2 separate regions of the Homo sapiens genome follow, and region 2 is linked to region 1. Evidence: promoter capture Hi-C in 16 types of primary human blood cells and fetal thymus (Javierre and others, 2016). All regions are on one chromosome and are shown on one strand. The core of a region is centred on a gene start or on the middle of the fragment in contact, and the rest is flanking DNA. Distances in the headings are between cores, read along the strand shown.

What was found. Contacts are between HindIII fragments. The CHiCAGO score rates a contact against its expected background, and 5 or more counts as called.
Region 2: a contact is called between a fragment that was not itself captured here and the fragment with the promoter of CNRIP1 in region 1, in 1 of 17 cell types (erythroblasts). The highest score is 6.5, in erythroblasts.

Annotation. Positions count from the first base shown.
Region 1 is chr2:68,317,770-68,323,070 of GRCh38, reverse strand. CNRIP1 (cannabinoid receptor interacting protein 1) reads left to right here and starts at 3,122. Exons shown (of 3, transcript NM_015463.3): 1 at 3,122-3,849. The coding sequence starts at 3,671. The HindIII fragment of the contact is 3,613 bases long and covers 2,998-5,301 here.
Region 2 is chr2:68,641,501-68,647,158 of GRCh38, reverse strand. It overlaps PROKR1 (prokineticin receptor 1), which reads right to left and starts at 3,580. Exons shown (of 3, transcript NM_138964.4): 1 at 3,311-3,580; 2 at 853-1,497. The coding sequence starts at 1,337. The HindIII fragment of the contact is 2,233 bases long and covers 715-2,947 here.

The DNA.
Region 1 (5,301 bases), core at 1,873-4,372:
CTTTTACAAGGGTACTACTAATCCCATTCACGTGGGCAGAAGAGCCCTTATGACCTAATCACCTCCAAAAGAACCCACTTCTTAATACTATTGCTTTGTGGATTCGGTTTCAACATAGCCATTTTGGGGGAACACAAGCAGCTGGGAGGCTGAGGCAGGAGAATCGTTTGAACCATAGCATGTGATTCCTCTGAATGACAACTAAGTCCATCGTTCACTTGGGCTCAATTTCACAGTTTTCAAAAGAATGATAATAAGCATTGTCCATTAGACAGACAATGTTTAAGATCACCAATCTGAGGTAATAATTAAAGAATCTACAATAAGACTGAAAGCACTAGATACCTTAAAAATATATAGCAAGAAATGAATTAATGCAGGAAAAAAAAGCCAAATACCGCATGTTCTCATTTTTAGTGGGTGCTAACCATTGGGTACCCATGGACATAAAACAGTTTTTCAACCCTTACTTGTCTCCCTCCCTCCCTGGCTAGTAGTCTTCATTCCATTGGTAACAATAGACACTGAGGACTTGGATGATGGGATCATTTCTACTCCAAACCTCAGCATCATGCAATACGCTCCAGTAACAAACCTGAATCTAAACTAAAAGTTGCTACATATTCAGCAAGTATATTTTTAAATAAAAATAGTTACAATGTATTGAGTGTCTCTATGGGCCTGATATTCTTGCATAGTTTACACAATTTCATTTGGTTCTATATGCATCATCTATGTCACCATCATCATTTTACAAATGAAGAAACTGGGGCTCCAAGAGACTAAAGCAGCTTTGCTCAAGGTCACTCAGTTTGTAATCCACAGATCTGGCAACACAAACACAGATCCATCAGACTCCATATTCATATTCTTTGCACATATGTATCAGTGATGATAAATTTTCCAATTACTTTTACATTTATTAATTTCATTTTAAGACATTACATTGTATGGTCCTGAAAATGCTATTCCTAATGGATATTGCCCAGCATTAGTAACACCTCGTATTTGAAAAGTAATTTATTTTTTTCAAACAATTTCCATTTCCTCATTCAATTCTCACAATGTTGGGAAGGAGGTATTTTAATCCTCATTTTACAAAGATGAAACATAAAGATGTTAAGTTATTTGCATAACGAAACTAAAAAGTGGCAGAGTTAGGTTTTTTTTATTTTATTTATTTATGAGATGGCAGTCTTACTATTTTGTCCATACTGGCCTCAAACTCGTCGGCTTAAGTGATCTTCCCACCTTAGCCTCCCAAGTAGTGGGGACTGCAAGAGTGCACTACCTAGCCAGGCTAGAACCAGAGTTTTTGTTTTTGTTTTTGTGTGGGTTTTTTTTTTTTTTTTCAGATGGAGTCTCACTTTGTTGCCCAGACTGGAGTGCAGTGGCATGATCTCGGCTCACTATAAGCTCTGCCTCCCCAGCTCAAGCGATTCTCATGCCTCAGCCTCCCAAGTAGCTGGGACTACAGGCATGCGCCACCACGCCTGGCTAATTTTTTGTATTTTTAGTAGAGACAGGTTTTGCCATTTTGGCGAGGCTGGTCTTGAACTCCTGGCCTCAAATGATCTGCCCTCCTTGGTCTCCCAAAGTGCTGGGATTCCAGGCATGAGCCACCATGCCGGCCTTAGAACCAGGTTTTAAAATGGAGTCATCATCCTCCAGGTCCAATGCTCTTTTTGATACACAGGTGGAAGTTGGCTTGAGATTGTGGGGTTGCTAAACAAAAGGTTGAGGAAAAAAGGCAAAATTTCCAAAAAGGCTTTTAAATGACCCCAAAAAGATACTCACCCTCTTTCCACTACTCATAAACCATAATAACCAACATTAAGTTTACTGTGTAACTCTCTCATTCTTTTAAAAGAGCTAATACAAACATACACATTTATATTCTTTTTAAATTTTCATTTTTCTAAAACACTAGAGATGCTACTTGCAATTAGATTTCTTTTCATCATTCCAGGTAAATCGCAAGGATCTAATTAATTTTAAAGATGTGAAAGAATTTACATATGGACATGATTAAGACCACAACCGTAAGTCAATTCAACAACGATTTCTGGAGCACCTACTATGTGTCAGGCACTATTTTGGCATGCTGGGGAAACAGCAACAAACAAAACAGACAAAATGCTCGCCCTCAGGCTTTGTTTCCCAGCCATCCCACTTTTATCATTAACAGTTTTTGCCTGTGTGTTTGCCAATGCAACCTATATTTCATTATTTTGATAGTTGTGTAACGTTCTATAGTGTGGGTATATAAGAATTTATTCAGCCATTTATTTATTGGTTAACATTTCATTTAGGTTTTATTTTTATTTTTGCAACCAATGTTGCAATAAACACCCATATTACATATATATTATATGTATAGCTTATTATTTCTTAAAAAAGAGCAGTCTAACTTGGGTAAACAAAAACTGCCAAGGAAACGCATCCCTACCCATTTGTTCTCACTAGCCCACTTCATTTCCCAGGTGTGCTCCCTGGCTCTGGTACTATCCATCTGGGTGGTGCTGAAGCAGGTGCTCTCTCTGCTCCGGGAAGCCATTCCCAGTATAGTCCTCACCCCCTGAGTCTCCCCTCGCTTCCAAAAGTCAGCTGTCTACCGACCTCTGCCACGAAAACTGTCTAATCACGCTTAATATGCAAATCTAAACTCTGCGGTGTCGCATATGGCCCCCTGCCAATAATCCTTTGACCCATCCCACCTCTTGGCCATTTTGTCACCAGAATGCCTTAGGCTCATGTCAGTTGCCTTTTACAGGGTTAATAGCTCACCCTTCAAAATCTGTGTAAATATATGTGATTCATTACATATATTTATGTATGTGTCATTTTTGGGACGAGCATACGTATAATGGAAATGTACACCCACAAGAAGATGTAGCTCCTTGAATATGGTTATTTTCTTCCTCTTGCATCCATTCCTCATCCAGCGTGGCTCCATCACGTGGAATTGCGCCTTTCCTCGGCCATTTCCCCTAAGCTTTGGAAAGACTCATATTTCCTGAAATTTAAATCACCGGCTAGCGGTTTCCTGTCCCCCCTTCCCGCCTCCCTTTACCCCCCCTCAGCCTCCTCCCGCCTGGCTGGCGCCGGATCCGCGAGCAGCAGTGTCCACCTCACGTAGCTGGCCGAGGCGGTATCCAGATTCCGGGGGTCTCGCTCCTTGGCATAGTGGTCGCTTAACTCCAGCGCCTTCCCAGTGCCTCCCAAACCTCTCCTCCTCCTGCCCGGGGCTGTTCTAGGAGGAGCCTAAATGTCCGCTTCCCCAGCTGAAGGGGATTGTGGTGCGTAAACAGGATTAACTCCCTCGCCCCCAGCTGCGCGGATCTGCGCGGCGGCCTGCGGGCCAGAGCGAGCCTTCGGGTGCGTGGAGGGCGCAGCACTGGAGCGGGGGATGGGGAAGCGCGCGGCCTTGGAGCCGTCTCTTGGGCCCGCTTCCTCGCCGAGTGGGGAGGGGGGCCACAGCCTAAGGAGCTGCTCCTCAAAAGCCCGGGCGGACGGCGGCGACGGCGCGGGTTCCTAGCGGCAGCCTCAGCTCCACCACCTCCCTCACCCTCCCCGCGCTTCCTCTCCGCCCCTCGCGCTCCAGCCACTCGGCCGCAGCCGGCGCTGTCCTCCGCCCCCCGGAGCCGCCGCGCCAGACCCTCGCCCAGACATGGGGGACCTGCCGGGCCTCGTGCGCCTCTCCATCGCGCTGCGCATCCAGCCTAATGACGGCCCGGTCTTTTACAAGGTGGACGGGCAGCGCTTCGGCCAGAACCGCACCATCAAGCTGCTCACCGGCTCCTCCTACAAGGTTGAGGTGAAGATTAAACCCAGCACGCTGCAGGTCGAGTGAGTGCGGGGCGCCTGGTGGCAGCAGGGTCCCCCATGGGGTACAGGCAGAGGACTGAGGCCCCCAGGACAGCCCGAGCCTCTCAAGGGCCTCTGGCCTCGCGCCGCTCCCAGCGGGCCCGGGGGTTGGAGGAAGAGGTCACTCCCTGTCCGCCTTCGTCCCCTTCCTTCCCTTTGGCTTGTATTCCTCCATTCTCGCTTCCCTCCACCCATCGCAGTGACCTCAGTGGGTTCTTTAAAATCAGTGACAAGAAGCCAGGGTTTTTGCTTGTCTGTTTCTTATAAATTTCTCCTGCCTTCTGTCCAGCCTTGGGCGCGGAACCGCAGGCGGTCGGGGTGGAGCAGATGGGAGAGGTCCGCAGGGTTCAGCCACCGCAATCCCAGCCCTCCTGCGCGCGGTCCAGGCGGCCCACAGGGTCTGCCCGCAAGGCTGAAGGAGGGAGAAAGGAGGAATGAGGTGGAAAGGCAGGGGAGGGGTGATTACTGGGGCTCCCTGAGGGATGCTCCCCACTCCCTTCGCCATTCAGTGGCTGGGACCCTGGGGTGGAGCAGCAGACACTAGTAAGAGAGCGGCCGCCCCTTCTCTGGCCTAGTTTCACGGTTTTCCATGCCGTATGCTGTTCTTTTTCTCCTGAGTTTTCTGTTCAGGCTGGTGATGGTGCCTGGGATTAGCAACATCCCCACAGCAAGAGGATGTTTTTTGGTTTATCCATGGCAGGGACGATTTCTTGCCAGCGACCGCTGGATAATGCACCCAGTAGACCTCTGGCGGGAAAGTGTGTGGGAGCATGCAGTAGCCTACCCGGAAGAACTGCGGGTGGAGCCCCTTTACCTCTCGTTTCTACCTACCAAAGTCTAGTCTGCAGAGAGAAAATAAACCAGCATTTATTGTATCTACTACATATGGTGGGCATTATTGCGGGGGTGGAAGGACTTTGAATTCATCAGATACTACTTATAGCTTACGTTTTAATTCAGTAAACTTGTATTAGCCTTCCAAGGTGCAAGGACCTAGAACCAAATCTGGATGGTTTCTGGTACTCCTGATTCATCTATTTGTCAGCATCCCCCACAGCTCCATGCACCCTTTATTCTCACATTTCCCAGTGTTCTGTGCACCTGGATATAATCCAGGCTTTTCCTTTCCCTTCTTTCCTGCCAACCTTATCCCCGGAGTTATCTGTTAATATATTTCTTTTTTTTTTTTTTAGAGTATTCCTCTAGTGTTCAAACTAATCTAAAAGTTAATTTGTTAGGAATAAAACTATTTTTTCTGGTTACATTTTAATGCTATCAAGGATTTCTCAACTCTAATCCTGTGGTTCTCAAACCTGAGTATATATCAGAATCACCTGGAGTGCTTGTTAAAACACAGATGCTGGAGCTCTCCCTAGAAGTTCTAGTTTAGTCTATGGTAGGGCCTAAGAATTTGTTTTCTAAGGTCTGCAGGTG
Region 2 (5,658 bases), core at 582-3,081, 330 kb before region 1:
AAAGGTGCAAAGTGATTAATGCAACAACAAAAAGTAAATAAACATATGTTCCCTTTTTTTTCAAAACAAATCCCTCAATCTTTTTATTTTTATTTATTTATTTATTTTTTAGAGACAAGGTCTCCCTCTGTCACCCAGGCTGGAGCACAGTGGCATGAACATAGCTCACTGCAGCCTGGAATTCCTGGGCTCAAGTGATCCTCCTGCCTCAGCCTCTCAACTAGCTAGGACTACAGGCACACACCACCACGCTCAGCTAATTTTTTAATTTTTTCAAAAGGTGAGGTCTGGATATGTTGCCCATGCTGGTCTCGAACTCCTGGCCTCAAATGCTCCTCCTATCTCGGCCTCCCAAATTGCTGGGATTATAGGCTTGAACTGTTTACCACAGCCAGTCATAAATCCTTGAATCTTATTTAAAAACAGATGATGCTAGAAGGTCATATTTTAGTAGAGGAAGTCTTGATGAGATAGAAACCTCCTTCAAGATTTCCACATTGACTCAAGAGGTAACTGCCTGACGCTTAAAGTTTCCCTCGATATCTCCTCTTACCTGTCTACTCTAGACCTTGAAAGGTGTAATATCTAGGAAAACATCCATAGCAAGGGAGATCAAAAGCTTCCCATCACCCAACTCTAGAGGGCTCTGCTGTCTTCTGTCTGAACAAAGCTGGAAAAGGAGAACTCTTCTCACTGTCAGTCAATGGGCAAGCTTTTGAGTCCCCCATGCAACCACATCTAGGGGGAATAGAGACACCTCTCATCAATCTGCAACTGCAGTACAGGAGGGGGCAATTCCAATGCCCCTTCCTCCCTGACCGCCTTTGTTGTCCCCACTGCTGCTGCACTCACCTGTCAATGGCGATGGCCAGCAGGGCATTGGTGGAGACATAGAGAGAGACAGTGCGCAGGTAGTTGACAGAGGTGCACAGGACGTGGCCGTGCTCCCAGGAGAGCTGGCGCACCACATAGTAGTCCATCTCAAAGGGGCAGCAGACAATGGCCACCAGGAAGTCAGAGATGGCCAGGTTGGCGATGAGCAGGTTGGTGAGGTTGCGCAGTTTCTTGTAGCGGACCAGGGCAGCGATAAAGATGAAGTTTCCAATGCCGCAGACCAGCATGATGCCCACCAGGGCCATCCCAATGACAATCTTGGCAGCAAAGAACGTCCTGGAATTGGTCACATCCTCATCTTCATCCAAAGGCATATCATAGTCGCTGTAGCTGAAGTTGAATGGGAAGGAAGTGGCATGGGCTCCATGAGGGTTGAGCACAGAAAGGAAGCTGGTGGAAGTGTTGGTGGCATTGTCATCCATGAACCCCATGGTGGTCTCCATCTGGCCAGGTGGTGCTGTGAGCAACACTGCTCAGAATTCCCCAGGGCAATGTCTGCAAGGCTGATGTCACCCCTCTCTGCTATCAGCCAGCTCTCCCTTAATGAGTCAGAATGTCTCTGCCAGCATCTTTGGGGTATGGTATCTGAGCTCCATTCTAAACCTTTGAAAGACATACAAACAGTTGGCTATATGTTGCAGTAAAGCTGGCCAAATTCAAAACCACCCTGTAACCTAAGCAGACCTATTAGCTCCCTGCCCAGAGTGAACATAGGGTGATGGAGTGGAAATAAAGGAACCAATGAGAGAAAATGAATGAAAACCACATACTCAATTAGGGAAGGGTGGATTGCTATAGAGACAATCAAGCACTGGCTCAGTTTATTTCTGTTCCACTGAAGACTCAGAAGTGTTGCACCTTTTCTCAAGGACAAAAGTTGGGAGTGTGGGGAGGCTGAAGAGAAAGAAATTTCTTTAAATGCTATTTAAGAGGGAGGGCTTTCAGACAAGCCTGTCTGCTCTCCTTGCTCTTCTGGCAGAACATGGCTCTAAAATCACAGAGCCATAGAGCAGCCACCTTCCTCACTATTTGCTGGACTTCCTGTTCCCACATTAGAACCTGCTATGACCCTAGAAGCTGGGAACAGCATTTATGAAGGCCTGTCCCCAGACAGAGGCTGTAGGGTAAAGTCACAGCCTGTGACTAACCAAGTGATGAGAATGGGGACGCTAGAGCAAAATTTTTCCTTGGCTGGTTGAGTGTCCAGGGGTAAATAGCTTAAACACTCAGAGGTTCAACTTCTGCCAGGCAGGAGATCAATAATGTCTGCACAGCCTGGAGCTCCCTGGAGGAGAGTGTTACACCCTAGAACTGCAAGGAGTTACTACTGCGCTCTCAGGCCTCCTCTGTCAGCTGCAAGGAAGGGGAGCGAAATCCTGATACAGGGACTCCACCACACCACATAATGGGGCTGGGGTGAGGGGTCTAGGGGGGTGTCAGCTGCCCTGGTGGGGACAGGGAGGCAGCCAGAGTCCCCCTGTCCCCTGCTCTCTCCCTGCAGTCCCTCCCAAACCCTGAAGACATCAGACCAGGGAGTGGGACGTAGAAGGAGGGCTGAGGTCTGGAGAGCACCCTAAAACAAATGTCAGGAGAACAGAGGGAAGAATGCAAGCCAGAGTTTTCCTGGGAAAGGAAGATGAGGAAGATGCCCAGGACCCCACCTCCCCACCCCCAGGAAAGCCTGCTCTCCATATTCCTCCGAGGCAAAACATCTGGAGCCTGTCTTCTTGGGGCCAAGTTTAAAGTCCCTCTGCGCCCCAGTGAGGCTCAGCCCCATTGCTGCCTCTCTGTCCTAACTCCTTACCCTGATTTTTTCCTTCCTCCGAGCTCTCAATTCTGTCTGGCTCAGCCCTTGCCCTCTGCCCACTCAGGGAGGAGAGGCAGAACTCAGCTGAAAAGAAGGAGGGGGGCAGGCTTGGAACCCAGGCGGGACAAGCCCCACTCCTTGCAGGTCCCGTGGGTCGCAGAGGCATGCCACTCCTGGAGGGGTACCCCTACAAGCATGCTACCTGAAGGGTCAAAGTAGTGTTTAAAAGCAAAGAATACAGAAGCTTCGGGGGTGGAGAGGAGGGCGTCACGAGATTAAGGATGATTGTCCAGAGGTCTTTTCTCCTTTATTCTCACCGTTCAGAGGGGAACCCCAATCCTACCCCCACCTGGTGACCTCTCGATCGCTAGAAGCCTCTCTCACAAACCCCTGCTGGCAAGTCCCCCGCCTGCTCCCAACTTTCTCCCTGGAGCCTGGGCAGCTTCCCCTAAGGACAGAGGAGGGGAAGCCTGGCTCTCCTGAAGAAACTCACAGGAGTGAATCCCTGGCAAAGTCCCCTCTTCACTCAGAAGCCGCCGCACCCCACGGCCGCAGCCAGTGCAGCGCGGGGTCCCTGGAGCATCCTCCCCGGGAGGGCGCGCTCTGTACCTGCGGCATCGCGGAGCCCGGCAGGCAAGGTCCGGGTTTCTTATTCCGGGGCCGGATCAGGAGACGCTTCTTCCAGAAGCCGGCAGGCGAAGGGCAGGTCCCCGCTCCCTTCCTCCTCTGCTCGGGGCTCTTTCCCGGCTCTGGCGGGGGAGTTACCTTCGCGCCGCCGCTGCAGATCCCCCGACCCGGCCCGCGCCGGACTCCCTGTCCCCGCCTCCGGTGGCCGTGAGGCGCCGAGGTGCGGGCTCTTGGCGAGGCGTGTCGCCAGCTGGGCTGCAGAGGCCGGGATCGCCCTGGGCGGGAGCGTCCGGATCGCCCTGGGCGGGAGCGTCTGGAGCTCCCAGGCGGCAGCTCGCGACGAGGACGCGCGGGAGGGAGCCGGGCCAGGCGGGCTGCGCGTTGCCCGGCTCAGGCTTCGGAACGGCCGCCTGGGGCAGGAACGGGGTCGCTGGGGCTCCGGGCAGGGCTCTGCGTCAATCCCGCGCCGGGGGCACCCATGCAGGGCGGCTGTGCCCGCCTCGGGGCACGGGGCTCCTCGGCGGCTCACCTTGGCAGCCCAGCGCCGTCGGAGTGGACGGACACGGCCCCGCTCAGCCGCGAGCTTGCAAAGGACCGAGGAGCCTCCCCCGCTGCTCACACACCTCCTCAGGGGACACTCAGGGGCCGGCCCCAACCTGGTCCCCTGGGCCAGCCTGAACGGACACCAGGGCCATCTTTGTTGCCAGCTGCCCTACCTCTCCGTAAAAGAGGCTCAGAGAAGTGCTTTCTGGAGAGCAAACAAGGGGGCGGGGTAGCACACTGGAGAGAGGAAGGACCCCCGCCCAGGGATGTCTGCTTAGAAGGCTGGGACGGACAGCGCTGACTTACAGAGCACAGTCTACCTTTACAAGCCCATAGATTCCTCAAAACGTGAGGCATATAGTCCCGCAATCCCACTCCAAGGTATGTAACCCCAAACTATTGAAAGCAGGGACACACATACACTGATGTTCATGGCAGCACTATTCACAGTAGCCAAAAGACAGAAACAACCCAAATGTCCATCAGCTAAGTGGATTAACAAAATACATATAGTATATACATGCAATAGAATATTATCCAGCTGTAAAAAGAAATGATAACAAGTGTTGGTGAGAATGTGGAGAAACTGGAACCCTGTGCACTGTCGGTAGGAAAGTAAAATGGTGAAGCCACTGTAGAAAACAGTATAGGGTTTCCTCAAAAAGTTAAAAAATACAATTACCATATGATCGAGTGTTTCCACTTCCGGGTGTCTAACCCAAAAAATTAAAAGCAGGGTGATACGGTTTGGCTGTGTCCCCACCCAAATCTCAACTTGAATTGTATCTCCCAGAATTCCCACGTATTGTGGGAGGGACCCAGGGGAAGGTAATTGAATCATGGGAGCCTGTTTTTCCCATGCTATTCTCGTGATAGTGAATAAGCCTGACGAGATCCTGTGGGTTTATCAGGGGTTTCCACTTTTGCTTCTCCCTCAGTTTCCTCTTGATGCTACCACGTAAGGAATGCCTTTCACCTCCTGCCTTGATTCTGAGGCCTCCCCAGTCATGTGGAACTGTAAGTCCAATTAAACCTCCTTTTGTTCCCAGTTTCCGGTATGTCTTTATCAGCAGTGTGCAAGTGAACTAATACACAGGGTCTCAAAGGCATGTTTGTACATCCATGTTCATAGCAGCATTATTCACCATAGCGAAAACATGGAAACAATCCAAATGTCCATCAATGATGAAGGGACAAACAAAATGCTCCACATACACACATACACTCACATGGGAACTTCCAAAAGTTTGTGGGAAAATGGAATTAAAAGATAAAAATACATAAACTTTAGCTCTCAGCATAAGCTCCATCACGTTCAAGATGCTTTTGTAATGATGGCAGACATTTAGTCCATCTCTAAAGGACTAAGGATCCTGGGAATTTTTCTATTTTATTTATTTATTTTTATTTTTTTGTTAAAACAGGGTCTGGCTAGGTTGCTCAGGCTGGTCTCAAACTCCTGGCCTCAAGCAATCCTCTCACCTCAGCCTCCCAAAATGCTGGGATTACAAGCATGAGCCACCAGGCCTGGCATGGGTCCTGGGAACTTAACCATGTCAATGAAGCCCTTTTTTTTTACATTATTAACGTAAGAAAAATAGCTGCTCCTTAAAGACTTTTTAAGATTAGGAAATGAAGTCAGAAAGAGCCAAATCAGGATGGTAAGAAGGATGGCTAATAATTGCCCTTGTTCAATTAGAGGAATGAGCAGTAGTATTGTCATGGTGGAGAAGGACTCTTTGGTGGAGCTTTTTCAGGCATTTTTTCTGCTAAAGCTTTGGCTAATT